4 separate regions of the Homo sapiens genome follow, and all the other regions are linked to region 1. Evidence: promoter capture Hi-C in 16 types of primary human blood cells and fetal thymus (Javierre and others, 2016). All regions are on one chromosome and are shown on one strand. The core of a region is centred on a gene start or on the middle of the fragment in contact, and the rest is flanking DNA. Distances in the headings are between cores, read along the strand shown. Region 1 holds the start of HPS3 (HPS3 biogenesis of lysosomal organelles complex 2 subunit 1). Region 2 has its middle 30 kb from the start of CP. Region 3 has its middle 10 kb from the start of CP. Region 4 overlaps CP (ceruloplasmin).

The links. The method cuts DNA at HindIII sites, captures the fragments that hold promoters and counts their contacts. A CHiCAGO score of 5 or more calls a contact.
Region 2: a contact is called between a fragment that was not itself captured here and the fragment with the promoter of HPS3 in region 1, in 10 of 17 cell types (total B cells, naive B cells, M2 macrophages and 7 more). The highest score is 13.8, in total B cells.
Region 3: a fragment that was not itself captured here is called in contact with the fragment with the promoter of HPS3 in region 1 in 4 of 17 cell types (total B cells, naive B cells, M1 macrophages and 1 more); the score reaches 6.8 in total B cells.
Region 4: a fragment that was not itself captured here is called in contact with the fragment with the promoter of HPS3 in region 1 in 1 of 17 cell types (total B cells); the score reaches 5.6 in total B cells.

Annotation. Positions count from the first base shown.
Region 1 is chr3:149,127,956-149,131,159 of GRCh38, forward strand. HPS3 (HPS3 biogenesis of lysosomal organelles complex 2 subunit 1) reads left to right here and starts at 1,683. Exons shown (of 17, transcript NM_032383.5): 1 at 1,683-1,985. The coding sequence starts at 1,769. RefSeq lists enhancers at 1,684-1,943, 1,725-2,224. The HindIII fragment of the contact is 10,979 bases long and covers 1-3,204 here.
Region 2 is chr3:149,250,536-149,253,739 of GRCh38, forward strand. It overlaps the pseudogene CPHL1P. Among named protein-coding and RNA genes, the nearest start is that of CP, 30 kb to the left of the region's middle. The HindIII fragment of the contact is 5,460 bases long and covers 1-3,204 here.
Region 3 is chr3:149,230,300-149,233,503 of GRCh38, forward strand. No RefSeq gene overlaps it. Among named protein-coding and RNA genes, the nearest start is that of CP, 10 kb to the left of the region's middle. The HindIII fragment of the contact is 5,487 bases long and covers 1-3,204 here.
Region 4 is chr3:149,208,014-149,211,217 of GRCh38, forward strand. CP (ceruloplasmin) reads right to left here. Exons shown (of 19, transcript NM_000096.4): 3 at 2,154-2,366; 4 at 1,198-1,371. Among named protein-coding and RNA genes, the nearest start is that of CP, 12 kb to the right of the region's middle. The HindIII fragment of the contact is 1,412 bases long and covers 1,133-2,544 here.

The DNA.
Region 1 (3,204 bases), core at 433-2,932:
AGCCAAGGAGAAGGGGCTTCAGGAGAAACCATACCTGCTGACATCTTATCTTGGACTTCTAGCCTCCAGACCTGTGAAAATGAAATATCTATTGTGTAAGCCACCCAGTCTGTGGTGTTTTGTTATGGCAGCCCTTGCAAACAAATGCAACCTCCCGCAAGGAATTGATGGTGTGCCATTGCTGCCCCTGCATTCGTAACAGGAATACAAGTGGGCAGCTCCTGCTCACAGCTCCTGACAAACGTGGAAACCAGACACATGCCCCACCTTCCCTTGGGTAGCATGTCTCTTCCCAAAGAATCTTAGATGAGTCAGGTGCAGTGACTACAGCAAGGAAGAAGACACTATCTCTAGGAAGGAATGGGGTTCCAGGTTTTGAGCAAATCTCACTTCTTTCTCCAAAACAGACATTCTTTTTATGCAGGTGAAATTACACTAAAGTTAATATCAGTCTTCATTAGGAGAAAATTGAATTAGGATAATTAAGTCTTGAAGAAGAAAATTAAGCCAAAAAGAATAATATGGCAGATACTTGTGGAAAGGAATCTTTTTTACTATTGATTTTGATATTTGCTCTTAAGTTTTGTATCTAGAACAAATAACTTGTGGACTATTAGTCTGGTTGTTTTCCATAGGAGCCTTCTGTGATTTTTTGCAGCCCTAGTTCCTGACCTGAGCTACCTCCATGTTTACTTCTCTAACTCACTGAGTTTGACGAACCTGTTGTTTCCCATTACTTAGAGGTACTTTATTCATCTGAAGGGCCTAGGAAAGGGAGGCAAGTTTAACTTCAATCCAATTGCATCTAATTTACAAATTCTGAACTGGAAACTGACTGAAGAAAATGTTGCACTTTCATTTATGTCCCTGTGTGCCTAAATAAAACAGCATCCCTCAATCCATGCTAACACATATATTTTCTAGGTGAACTGGACAAAGTTATACTACTTGTTTTATCTAAATCTGATTTTTTTAGAAAAGGGAAAGTGTTGCGATCGTGAACTCCACGTTGAGATGTCAGGAATAGATAATTTACTGCATAGTTTTAGGAGCACTGGACTGAAAGCCAGGGGATTTCCCTCCTAGTTCTTCTATCCTCTGGGGCTCAAACTAGTCTTTTGTCAAATGCCTACAAGATGAAGTCCATGGATTCTTTCTTTCAACAAATATCTTTTTGCCAAGCACGTTCAAGGCTTTGCTCTTTCCAGCTGAACTATTCTAGAATTTCCATTATTTTAAAGCAACTCTTCAGAGTGTTTAGCCCCGAGTTGCACCCCATTTCAGTTTTTGCAACCCCATCCTCCAGAAGCTCAGGGACTACTGAAGAGACATGAATAACGCTCCTCAAAGTAAGTACAAAATGTTACAAGATAGATGATGAATTGTCAGAACGTACTCAAAAGCCAAAACATACCGCCTGGCCCAAAGCAGTAAAAGACGAAAGGCAGGGACCCAGCGGTCCCCGCACCCACCGGCCACTGAGCATAGAGCAGTGGCAAGCTCGCGCGGCGGAGTGGGAGGCGCAGAGACCGAAAGCACTGCAGCGCCAGAGCGCGGGCTGACCAGGCTGGCGTGACCGCTTTCCCGACGCCTGCCACGCCCCGCGGCGGCCTCTTTAAGTAGCGGAGCCGCGGGCGGGGCCGGCTGGCGTTCACGTGACCCGGCGTCATTGGCTCGCTCGCGGAAGTAGTCCTACATTCGCGGTCAGCGCGGGGTCTCCGGGCGCCCTGCAGGGCGGGCAGGCTGTGCCATCCCGCCGGACGTCGGGATGGTGCAGCTGTACAACCTGCACCCGTTCGGGTCGCAGCAGGTGGTGCCCTGCAAGCTGGAGCCGGACCGGTTCTGTGGCGGGGGGCGTGACGCGCTTTTCGTGGCGGCGGGCTGCAAGGTGGAGGCGTTCGCGGTGGCCGGCCAGGAGCTGTGCCAGCCGCGGTGCGCCTTCTCCACGCTGGGCCGGGTGTTGCGCCTGGCCTACAGCGAGGCTGGTGAGTAATCTAGAGAGCCAGGGGCCGCCTGGGGTCCAGCTTGAGGCCTCCTAGCTAGCGGACCGAACGTCTGGGCTGTAGCTCTAGCTAGGGATGGGACTTCTTGCTTCCCGGAATTTGCCGGATGGTCTCCCTGGGTCTGGCCGCTGATTGCTTGAAGTCGCATTGAGCTATGCGGTTGTCGCGGCAAGCATAGGTATGAGCTTGCTTCTGTCGGGGCGGAGACGCTGACATCTCTTCGTCTTGGTTTTCTGCAGAAAGGCCTCTGGCTGGATTCCACTCATCTCGGATACTTAAGCAAACAACAACAAAAAACTCTTTAGTGCATCAGATTTCAAAGACTTACCAAAAAAACAAGTAGGAATAAGGAGACTAGTACTGTATCCCGGAACCTCCAAGTACTCCCAGCTTTAACAATTATTCCAACTCTTGGCAGTTCTTTCACATCTGTACCTCCATCTACTTCCGGTCGGTTTTTGAAAGCTCACATTATGTGTTGATTTTTAAATGTGTGTAAGTAGAACTCAGACTGCCCCCCTCTCTTCTCTTAAACATCTGTGGCCGGGCGCAGTGGCTCACGCCTGTAATCCCAACACTTTGGGAGGCTGAGGCAGGCGGATCACGATGTTAGGAGTTCGAGACCAGCCTGGTCAATTTATTGAAACCCCGTCTGTACTAAAAATACAAAAATTAGCCGGACGTGGTGGTGGGCGCCTGTAGTCTCAGCTACTTGGGAGGCTGAGGCAGGAGAATCGCTTGAACCGGGGAGGCGGAGATTGCCCCATTGCACTCCAGTTTAGGCGACAGAGTGAGACTCCGTCCCAAAACAAACAAAAACAAACAGTTGTAAGAGCAGCCGTTACTCTTTCACACCAGAAATGTGAAGCAATACCAAGGAAATACTGTGTGGGTGAATCCTATTTTAGAAAAATCCAACATTTAAAACTAGATCCCTTTTAGATTACAGAAGAATTTACCATATAATTCCTTTAATACACTTACCTTCGATTCATACTTTACAAGATGGGTGTAAAGTTCAGTATTTACGTTGCAAAAGCTGGTGGCTATGCTATTAATGAAGTGGAGAACTTGAACCTGGAAGATTGGAGATCTCTCTCTAATCCCTACCCCGCAGCTGGTTCGGTGTGAGTTTATAGAAACCTTGGGGTCTGAGTTTATGTTAAAAAAAAAAAAAAAAAACAAAAAGTTGAATAAATAG
Region 2 (3,204 bases), core at 297-2,796, 120 kb after region 1:
GAAGGGCTCAAGAGAGCAGTGAGCAATATCATAGGGTAAGCAGGGTAGGCCTCGATGAGAGGGTGATACCTGGGCAAAAATTTATAAGAGATGATATGGGTCTGGAGGAAAAGTGTGTTCTCTCTAGGCAGAATAAACAGGTGGCAAAGGCCCCAGGCCAGGAGCCTGTTTGGTGTGTGTGAAGAGCACCCAAGAGGCCTGTGTGTCTGGAGGGAGGGAGCAAGGGTGAAAGTACTAGGGAGCAGAGGGCTAGGTGATGGAGCCCTTGTGGGCCACTGAATACATGATAGCATTCACTAAGTGAAATGGAGAGCCACTGTGGGATTTTAAGTCAATGAAGGGTATAAGGACACTCTAGCAGCTGTGCTGAGAATAGGCTGGCGTGTACAATGGTGAAAGAAACGGGATCTGTTGAGAGGCTATTAAAAATAATCGATGAGAGATGATGGCTTTGATCAGAGTGGTAGGTAGCAGAGGAGGGAGTGAAAAAAAGTTCAATACATTAAAAATACATTAAAAATCCAAAACAATGACAAAAACAAAAACAAACCACCATAACAAAAAAACTCTAGCCTGATTCTGACCAGAACATTCCACCTGAATTCCAGTTTTCTTTCTTTTACCTTGGTAATTTTAGGCCCACCACGTGCTGACACTGCTTCTTGACGAAAGCTCTCTTTCAACTCTACGTATTTCTGTTGTTGCTGTGACTTTTGTGGAGGGTAAGGTTTAGGAAGATGTACAAGGAAGCAAAACCTTCAGACTCAGAGGGTTTGAGAAAAAGAATTTGTTGAAAATGACATAATCCCTGTATAAGCTCTAGCACCGTGTTTAACACATAGTGTACCTGTCTCCACTTGTTTGCTACAGTTGATATGCTTTGGAAAAGAGAATGAGACAAGGTAGTTTTTAAATCCAGAAAAACACCTGCAGGGGAAAGGAGAGGAAGGACTGGGGCAGGAAAAAGAAATAACTTGTCCCTGAATGAGCATGCAGGTACATCCTCTAAAAAAGAGGAGGAAAAAAAAAAGCACCAGAGAAAGATCTCTCTCTCTTTTTTTTTTTTTTTTTTTTTTTTTGTGTGTGAGACCGAGTCTTGCTCTGTCGCCCAGGCTGGAGTGCAGTGGCACGATCTCGGCTCACTGCAAGCTCCGCCTCCTGAGTTCATGCCATTCTCCAGCCTCAGCCTCCCGACTAGCTGGGACTACAGGCGCCTGCCACCATGCCCAGCTAATTTTTTTGTATTTTTAGTAGACACAAGGTTTCACCATGTTAGCCAGGATGGTCTCAATCTCCTGACTTCATGATCCGCCCGTCTCAGCCTCCCAAAGTGCTGGGATTACAGGTGTGAGCCACCGCGCTGGGCCAAAGATCGCTTTCTTTTCCCCTCCAATTACTCTGAATCACAACTTTTGTTTGTTTGAAAAGTAAAATTTTAAATTTTGAAATGAAGAAAATGTAGTCAAATGAATATTTGGCATCACAAAGAGTCAAGATACCAATTCATAGTATTTACAGAGTAGTTTGTTTATCATATAGCCAGATTTTGGTTGATATCAGTCATTTTTGACCAAGATAGATGTATTTTGGGGCGGGGGGGCAGGTATATGGGACAAGGGTGGATCTACTGGATTAAAGAAGGAACTAGCATTTATTGAAAGTCTAACATATGCCAGGCAGTTTACTATACTTTACCTATCTCATTGATCACTGTCTATTCCTTTTTGCAAATTACAAGTTTTTACAATTCCTATTTTACAAATGAGGAAACGAGGTTCAGAAGGAAGGCTGGTTTCCTTTGATCCCCACACAGTTCTTTGATATGGGGTGCCTTCTTTAAAAAAAAAAAATGTTGCCAGCAAGGATCAACCTCACTGAAGCTAAAACATTTATCCAGAGAGCAAAGCTAGTAAGGAGGATAGAAAGAGGAAGTCACAAGGCAGTAGGGTAAGGTCGAAGCAGCAGGAAGGCCTGGGAAACAAATGGACAGAAGAGTAAGAAATGCAGAAGACAACAGAATGAAAATGAGTTTAAAGGGTTTAAAACATCTTCATCATTTTTGAAGAGCATTGGGATGGTTTAAAGCCTGAAGGACTAGGAAGAGGACCTGAAAAAACTGAGGTGATTTATGTGTATAGGAAAATGAAATACTAAGGCTCTTATAAATGAAGTGGAGCAGGGCAAAGATTTCTCAAGCATTGTTTGTATCAGTTCAATTTTTTTTTCCTGTACAGAATATTCAGTGCGTATAAAGATAGTGCTTCTGCATACTTTAATGTTTCAGGCTGAATGAGAAGACCCACTGCTCACCTATAGAATCAGGTGTCATCAAAAGCGTCTGAGAAGTATAAGGAAACATAGGTATTGTGTCCCTTCTTGCTCCTAAAGAAGTGAAGGTATTTCCTGAAAAATATATCCCGTGTAAATCTTCCACTGATCCTACACTAAAAACGTGCCACAAAACGTTGTCTCCTAAGCACGTGTCCAATCCAGGCAGATTTCCATACATGTATCCATTTATGGCTGCAAGGTATTTGTAACAAAGGAAAGAGTATTTAATTCACTGGTACTTGATATCTTTTGAAACCCAACAAAGCATTAATCATGAAGCAGCTCATTCACGTAAAAAAAAGCAATTTTTTCAACTTTCCTTTCCTCTATTGTTATTTAATCACTTCATGGGGGCTAAAAATGACATTATAGAATTAGAGAATGACAGAATTCCATGATACCCTCATTGGGTTATTCCAGTCAAGCTCTTCCTTTTAGAGTTGAGGAAACTAAGGCCAGAGAAATAGTTTCTTGTCCAATGTCATACGGCTAACAAATGACAATGTTAAGACCAAAGTCCAAGTCTCCAGATTCTGGATCAACCCTTTTCCCAATGCACTGTACAGTCTTCAAAAACCAACAACCAACCAACCAGCCACCCACCAACCCACCCAACCAGCTCAACAAACACCCTACTCCACCCACTCTACGAATTTGGCAGTAGAGAAGTACGTGACTTTTCACATTTAGCTATAGATAAAATATATTGCACCAAGAAGGTGTTGGTAAATATTTGGTAAGTTAAATTCAAAATAATCACCCTAGTAGACAATATTCTTCTTGGGAAATGATATTTATTTATTATTTATATATTTACTTATTTTTTGGTATGGAGTTCTGCTCTTGTTACTCAGGCTGGAGGGCAATGGCGCG
Region 3 (3,204 bases), core at 284-2,783, 100 kb after region 1:
CTATCTCACCACACTGCTATTGATGCTATCATTAAAAATAGATAAATATTTGCCAACATATACTCAAAAAGGTATTTTATTGTTGCTTAAATGTGATTTTGAAGTGATTTGATTATTGGCAAGTTTGGATATTTTTATAGGTTCAAAAGATATTTGTTTTTGATCTTCTATGAATTGTCTGTTTATACCTTATATGTATATCTTATGTGAATCTGGAAATTACATTTAACTCTAGAGTATATTTTATCAGATCATGAAAAGTTATCTGAGTTTTACAAAGAAAATAAAACTAGAGTATCTCAGTCATCTCAAAATAGTAATCTTTGAATGAATGAATGGCACATCACATTATATGAATGTTCAATGCATTAAATATCCTTACATAAACACTGCATTTGTTTAAATATCACTTCTAATTAATTTAGCCAATGGATCTTACCTTTTCTTTCAAGTACAGTGTAAGTGCTTTCCATTCCAGCACCAATGTGCTCAAAAACATGGCAATAAAATAACCAGGTTCCAACATCTCTTCGATACATTTTTACAGTTCGATAGACCCCAGGAGGAAGGTCATAAACATCAGATTGATACACTCCCTAATTCTTAACAAGGAGATTAAACATCATTACATCGCTTATAAAAGATATCACTTACCACTTGCTATAATTCCCAAATTCTAATATACCTAATTAGGTGACAATTAGAAAGCATTAGGTGCTGGGCTGGGCACGGTGGCTTATGTCTGTAATCTGCTACTTGGGAGGCTGGGGTGGCAGGGGAGGATGACTTGAGCTCAGGAGTTCAAGACCAGCCTGAGCTCCTCATCTCTAAAAAAAAATATATTTTAAAAATTAGCCAGGCAGTAGTGTGTGCCAGTAGTCCCAGCTACCTGGGAGGCTGAGGTGGAAGGATTGCTTGAGCCCAGTTCAAGGCTGCAGTAAACTGTGATCATGCCACTGCACTCCAGTATTCCAGCCTGGGTGACAGAGCAAGATCCCATCTGAAAAGGGAAAGGAAAGGGAAGGGGAGGGGAAGGGAGTGGATGGCAAGAGAAAGGAGGGGAGGGGAGGGGAGGGGAGAGGAGGGAGAAGAAAAGGGAAGGGAAGAGGGAAAGGAAAGGAAATCATTAAGCTATTAAAGCTATTTTGTTCTCTTCTCTGAGTGCACTTGAGGCTTTGGAGGAGAACTAAGACCCAGGACATTCTGGTGTTAGATAGAATGCAAAGAAAATGTTTCACTCTACAAGGGTACCTGTAGTTTCGTATTGGTGTTAGAAACTTGCCAATGTCTCACACGACCGAGCGCTCTAGATTTCAGAGAACTTCTAGTCTCAAATCCCAAAGGTTCTAAGTGACATATTTCTAACTTGGGATGTTACGTTGATGTGACATAACATGTTGATGTGAAGGATTGTCATTTCTTGAGATACAGCTAATCAGAAAAACTCATTGTTACAGGAAAGAGAAGGGGAGAGGGAGGAGAAGGGAGGAGGAGCTCCCTTGGCATCTGCAGCCAAGTTTGCCTTCTGGAGATTGGGCCTGAGGGCTGAGGGCTGAGGGCACTTTTTAGCTAATTTCTCTCCTAAGCAGAGAACCCAATGTTTAGGAAACTACCTCTGTAGGCTGCTTAGAATTTTAGATATGAAGTCCTAGGGCCTAGTCCGGGTGGATTGGAAGAGACTAAAAGGAAGGTGAATTGCTCTACAAAATAAAATAGGAAGTATTTGCAGGATGGTGGTGGGGGTGGATTGGGGAACTGCAGCTCAAGAGTTCTGAATAATTTCAGGAGAGAAGGGATGTCAGAGAGTCTAGAGAGGAAAAATGTGGAGAAACAAGTCCTGAGGGTGAGAGTAAAAGGCAAACGAGCTAGAGGCTCTCAGTGATGCATGGTGAAAGGGTAATTGGGGGTGGGACATCTAATGTCAAATGGTAAGTGCTTTCTTTTTTTATTATTATTATTATTATACTTTAAGTTTTAGGGTACATGTGCACATTGTTCAGGTTAGTTACATATGTATACATGTGCCTTGCTGGTGCGCTGCACCCACTAACTCGTCATCTAGCATTAGGTATATCTCCCAATGTTATCCCTCCCCCCTCCTCCCACCCCACCACAGTCCCCAGAGTGTGATATTCCCCTTCCTGTGTCCATGTGATCTCATTGTTCAATTCCCACCTATCAGTGAGAATATGCGGTGTTTGGTTTTTTGTTCTTGCGATAGTTTACTGAGAATGATGCTTTCCAATTTCATCCATGTCCCTACAAAGGACATGAACTCATCATTTTTTATGGCTGCATAGTATTCCATGGTGTATATGTGCCACATTTTCTTAATCCAGTCTATCATTGTTGGGCATTTGGGTTGTAAACTAGTTCAACCATTGTGGAAGTCAGTGTGGCGATTCCTCAGGGATCTAGAACTAGAAATACCATTTGACCCAGCCATCCCATTACTGGGTATATACCCAAAGAACTCTAAATCATGCTGCTATAAAGACACATGCACACGTATGTTTATTGAGGCATTATTCACAATAGCAAAGACTTGGAACCAACCCAAATGCCCAACAATGGTAAGTGCTTTCATTATGTAGTACTGAAAAAAAAACTTCGTTTATCCCCACTCTTTCACTAAAAGTCTGTAACTCACAATGGCCTTGATTTTGTGGTTGCTTAAGAGTACCAAAGGAAATGGGATGTGCTCCATGTTTGGAATTGCACACAGTTATGAAAAAACACCAGCTATAGGAGTTGAGAGGCAAGGGAGATGAGCAGAAGCAGGAAGTTAGAGTTGGGGTGAATAGAAGACATTTAAGCTCTCAAGACTCCCTGCAGATATCGGAAGGCAGACAGGAGGAAGACTGAGCTGTTTCTTACTAGAGACAGAGTTGGAGCTCAAGCCATTGTTATTTAGGAACATTAATTTTACAACTAAAGTGAAAATAATACAGATGACATAGGATACAGTTTTTGGACGTCAGAAAAACGTAGAGAACAGCATGAAAAAAATTTAACCACAAATTGACGATGTCCAAAGCACCAGTAAATGTGGAAAATATACCTAGAGCCCTGGCACCCAGGAAGACTGTAGCTTTAGGGAACAAGCTGTGACTGGCTGGCTTGTCCCAGAACTAGGTTAGTAACCACAGAGGGCTGCTTCACTGCCCCCAGGAGTTTCAGGGAGTGAAGCCCAGTGTCTGCATA
Region 4 (3,204 bases), core at 589-3,088, 80 kb after region 1:
GTAGTATGGATGTTTTTGCTTGTCAGAAAATTTCCAATTTTCTACCATAAATTTATTTTGTAAAAAGTACATAAGAATAGCTTTTTTTTAAAGATTGCAAGACAAAATTTTTAAGATTGGAAGAGATATGAAGGAGGGAAAAAATGTAGAAGGGCAGCAGGGACAGAGCCACAAAGACCTAAAAGTTCATAGGCAAGGTGGCCTGAAACCCTCAGAAGAAACTTATGGTCACTGTTCAAACTGGGTGGCCCTAAAAATTTCCCAAGTGGAAATTAGTTCTGGGAAGAATCCTGAGTGCACCACATGTAACACTGGTACCAAATCAAACCTGCTCAGGCTAGAATTTTGAGTATCTTTTTATAACAACTATTTTTGTTAGTACACAACAGAGACAGGATTAAAGTATGGAAAGAGGACCTTCCACCCAGATATAAGTAAAAGTTGGAAACAAAATCTGTACTTTGTTAACTAGTTTATTTTTCTACTTTGGTAGTATCGTTATTTTTGTGCTCTCGGTTTCTGAGTACAGGTTATTTTGAAGAAGTTAAACACAAACAAATAAACGAAAATATCTACTTATTGGTCTAGTTGTTGTTAAGGGACTCTGTTTCTCATGCAAATTATGAGAAATAGATAATCTTACTAAGCTCATTATTTTGTGTCTGAGAATTAAGAAAAAGTCTAAACTGTAAAAAAAGCATTTCTAGAAAAGTAAAGTGAACTGAAATGTAGAAACGAATGATGCAGACTAAGGGGCCCAGTGAGGGCAACATAGTATGTAAAACGAATACCTTTCAGAACTCGTGGTTTGAACTATTTTCTTAAATATAGTTAGATGCTTTAAAATATAATATGGTTTTAAGCATTTAGTTTAATAATTTGGAGCTGCCTCAAATAATTTTTAGAATGAGTCTAGTGGATAAATAAATATATTAATGTCACATACATATGCATTAAACCATAATTGATGCTTTATCCTTACCAGTTGGGGAACAAGTTTGGTGTATCTGGCTTTACCTGGCTTAGAGTTTTTATTCTGACTTACTTAGCTGAATATCAAATTGCACATCCAATATGCTTTGTTATAAGGACCACAGACTAGACACACAGTACTTATTTATGTGAGGGAATAAGCTTAGCAGAATTAATGGATCAAGGGAAAAAAAAGTAAAGTTAACATGTCTGCTGTAATCTTACAATACATTCTGTTACTCTCCTGGAAGTCTTCGTTGTCTTTGTCAACTTTCTCTGGTTCTGAGCAGTAGGTTTTAATGTTGTCTTCTAGGTACCAGCTGAAATTTTCATCCACCACAGAAAACATCACCACAAATTCTCGGTCAATATGTTTTTCTTTTTCTTTATCTAGAGAATCTGGAGTTAAAGTTACTATTTTAGCAAGACTAAACTTTTAGCATGTATTTTGATTTATGTTTTCAGGTGATTTATAGTTTTTAAAAATGTTAGTATTTATTTTTTCGAATAAATCACAAGTCTGGACCAGTCACTCCTGTTTTACAGACAGAAACACTCAGGGAATTTTTATGATCAGTATCTGGTGCTTGGAAGACACTCCTGTGTCTGGATGTCCACTGACCACATAACTATTAAATGCTTTTTGGCAAATGGGAAGATTGGAATTCAAAGTTGTGCGTCTATTTTCTGGTGCATATAGCCACAAACAGAGACAAGTCTTTACAGGTAACGATTGTTCAAGTTAGAATTGTATTTCAGGCTCTTGAGCTCCGTTGTCTTTTTCATGATGTTAGAAATAAATACTATGATATTATGTTTACCAATATAGTATGAGTAACTACAGATCTATCACCGTGGAGTGCCCTTTTGGTAGTCACATTTGGTAAAGTCATATGTCTCTTCAGCACCACTGTTGGAAGTTAGATACAGCAAACTGAACCCTGAGAGAATATATTTCTTTCACATTACCTTCATTGGCATTTTCCCCGTAGGAATGCTTGTTCTATTTATCCCTTCTTCTCCTAGTCCTGCCTGGCTCTTCCCTTCCTTTTTTTCTACTTACCACCTCTCTACCTTACCTGCTCAATCTCAGCACAGAAGACTTGATTTCTTTTTAAAAGACAAACTGCCCTGCCCCTGTCTTTTGGTCATATAGCATGTGCAATAAGGAGAAGATGTACCTTTTTTACAGATTATTAAAGGTCCGATGAGTCCTGAGGCAATATCTTTTGGAGCATCAATGTGGGAATGGTAAATCCTAGTCACACAATTGCCATCTCCTTCCCCAGGACTTTGTTCTTCAGTGGCAAGCAACATGTATGTATACTGCTCTCCTGGATATACTTTGTCATCTGCTCTTTGAAAATCTGTGGTGTTATCAGGGTAGATGGCCCCTAGGAAGCAACATGCAATGAAGGTGCAAAGTGAATGTGTTTGAACTTAAATGAGAGAATAGATAGTCCATTAATTCATTCAGCAAACATTTATTAAACATCTACTATGTGATCCTTGGGGATGTGTTATCCTATTTGGACACAGGAAAATGAAAGGCTAATGGCTAGGGTGTGTAGAAGCTTCACAGACATTTTTATTATTTTTTTATATTTGATTGGGTTTTCAGAGAGCATAATGACTTTTTGTTTGCAATGTAAAGAACTCGGGTCATGGTATGGGAGTCTGAGCAAAAAGGCTACCCTCTTCTAAATTCAAAACTTCTTATATGATCTCAGATTTTTGCCCACGAAGTAACCATAAAATTAAAAACATTTCTACTCTCAATTTTGGAAATTTCCAAACACACACAAAGGTTGAGAGAAGAAAATGCTGAACCTCTGTGTACCCATCAAACCAGCTTTAACAATGATCGACTCAAGGCCAACCTTGTTTCATCTGTACCCCCACACACTCTTATCCCCAGTATCATCAAATTATTTTAAAGCACGTCTCAGACATCATATTCCATTCATAAATACTTGAGTATGTATCTCTAAAAGATAGGAACCCTTTTTTTCTTCTAACAAAACCACAGTTCCATTACCATACCTTTAAAATGAATGGTAATTCCCTAGTAAGCCATGAAATCATTAAAAAGAAATAGGATGGCAGTCAGCCTTTTATGCTATGAATGTAATTTATCCCTAAACAACAACAAAAACAAAAAAAGTCAACACATTCACTTTCTAAACCAATATCTCTTTTAATAAGACAACTAATAATGAATCAAATCTAATT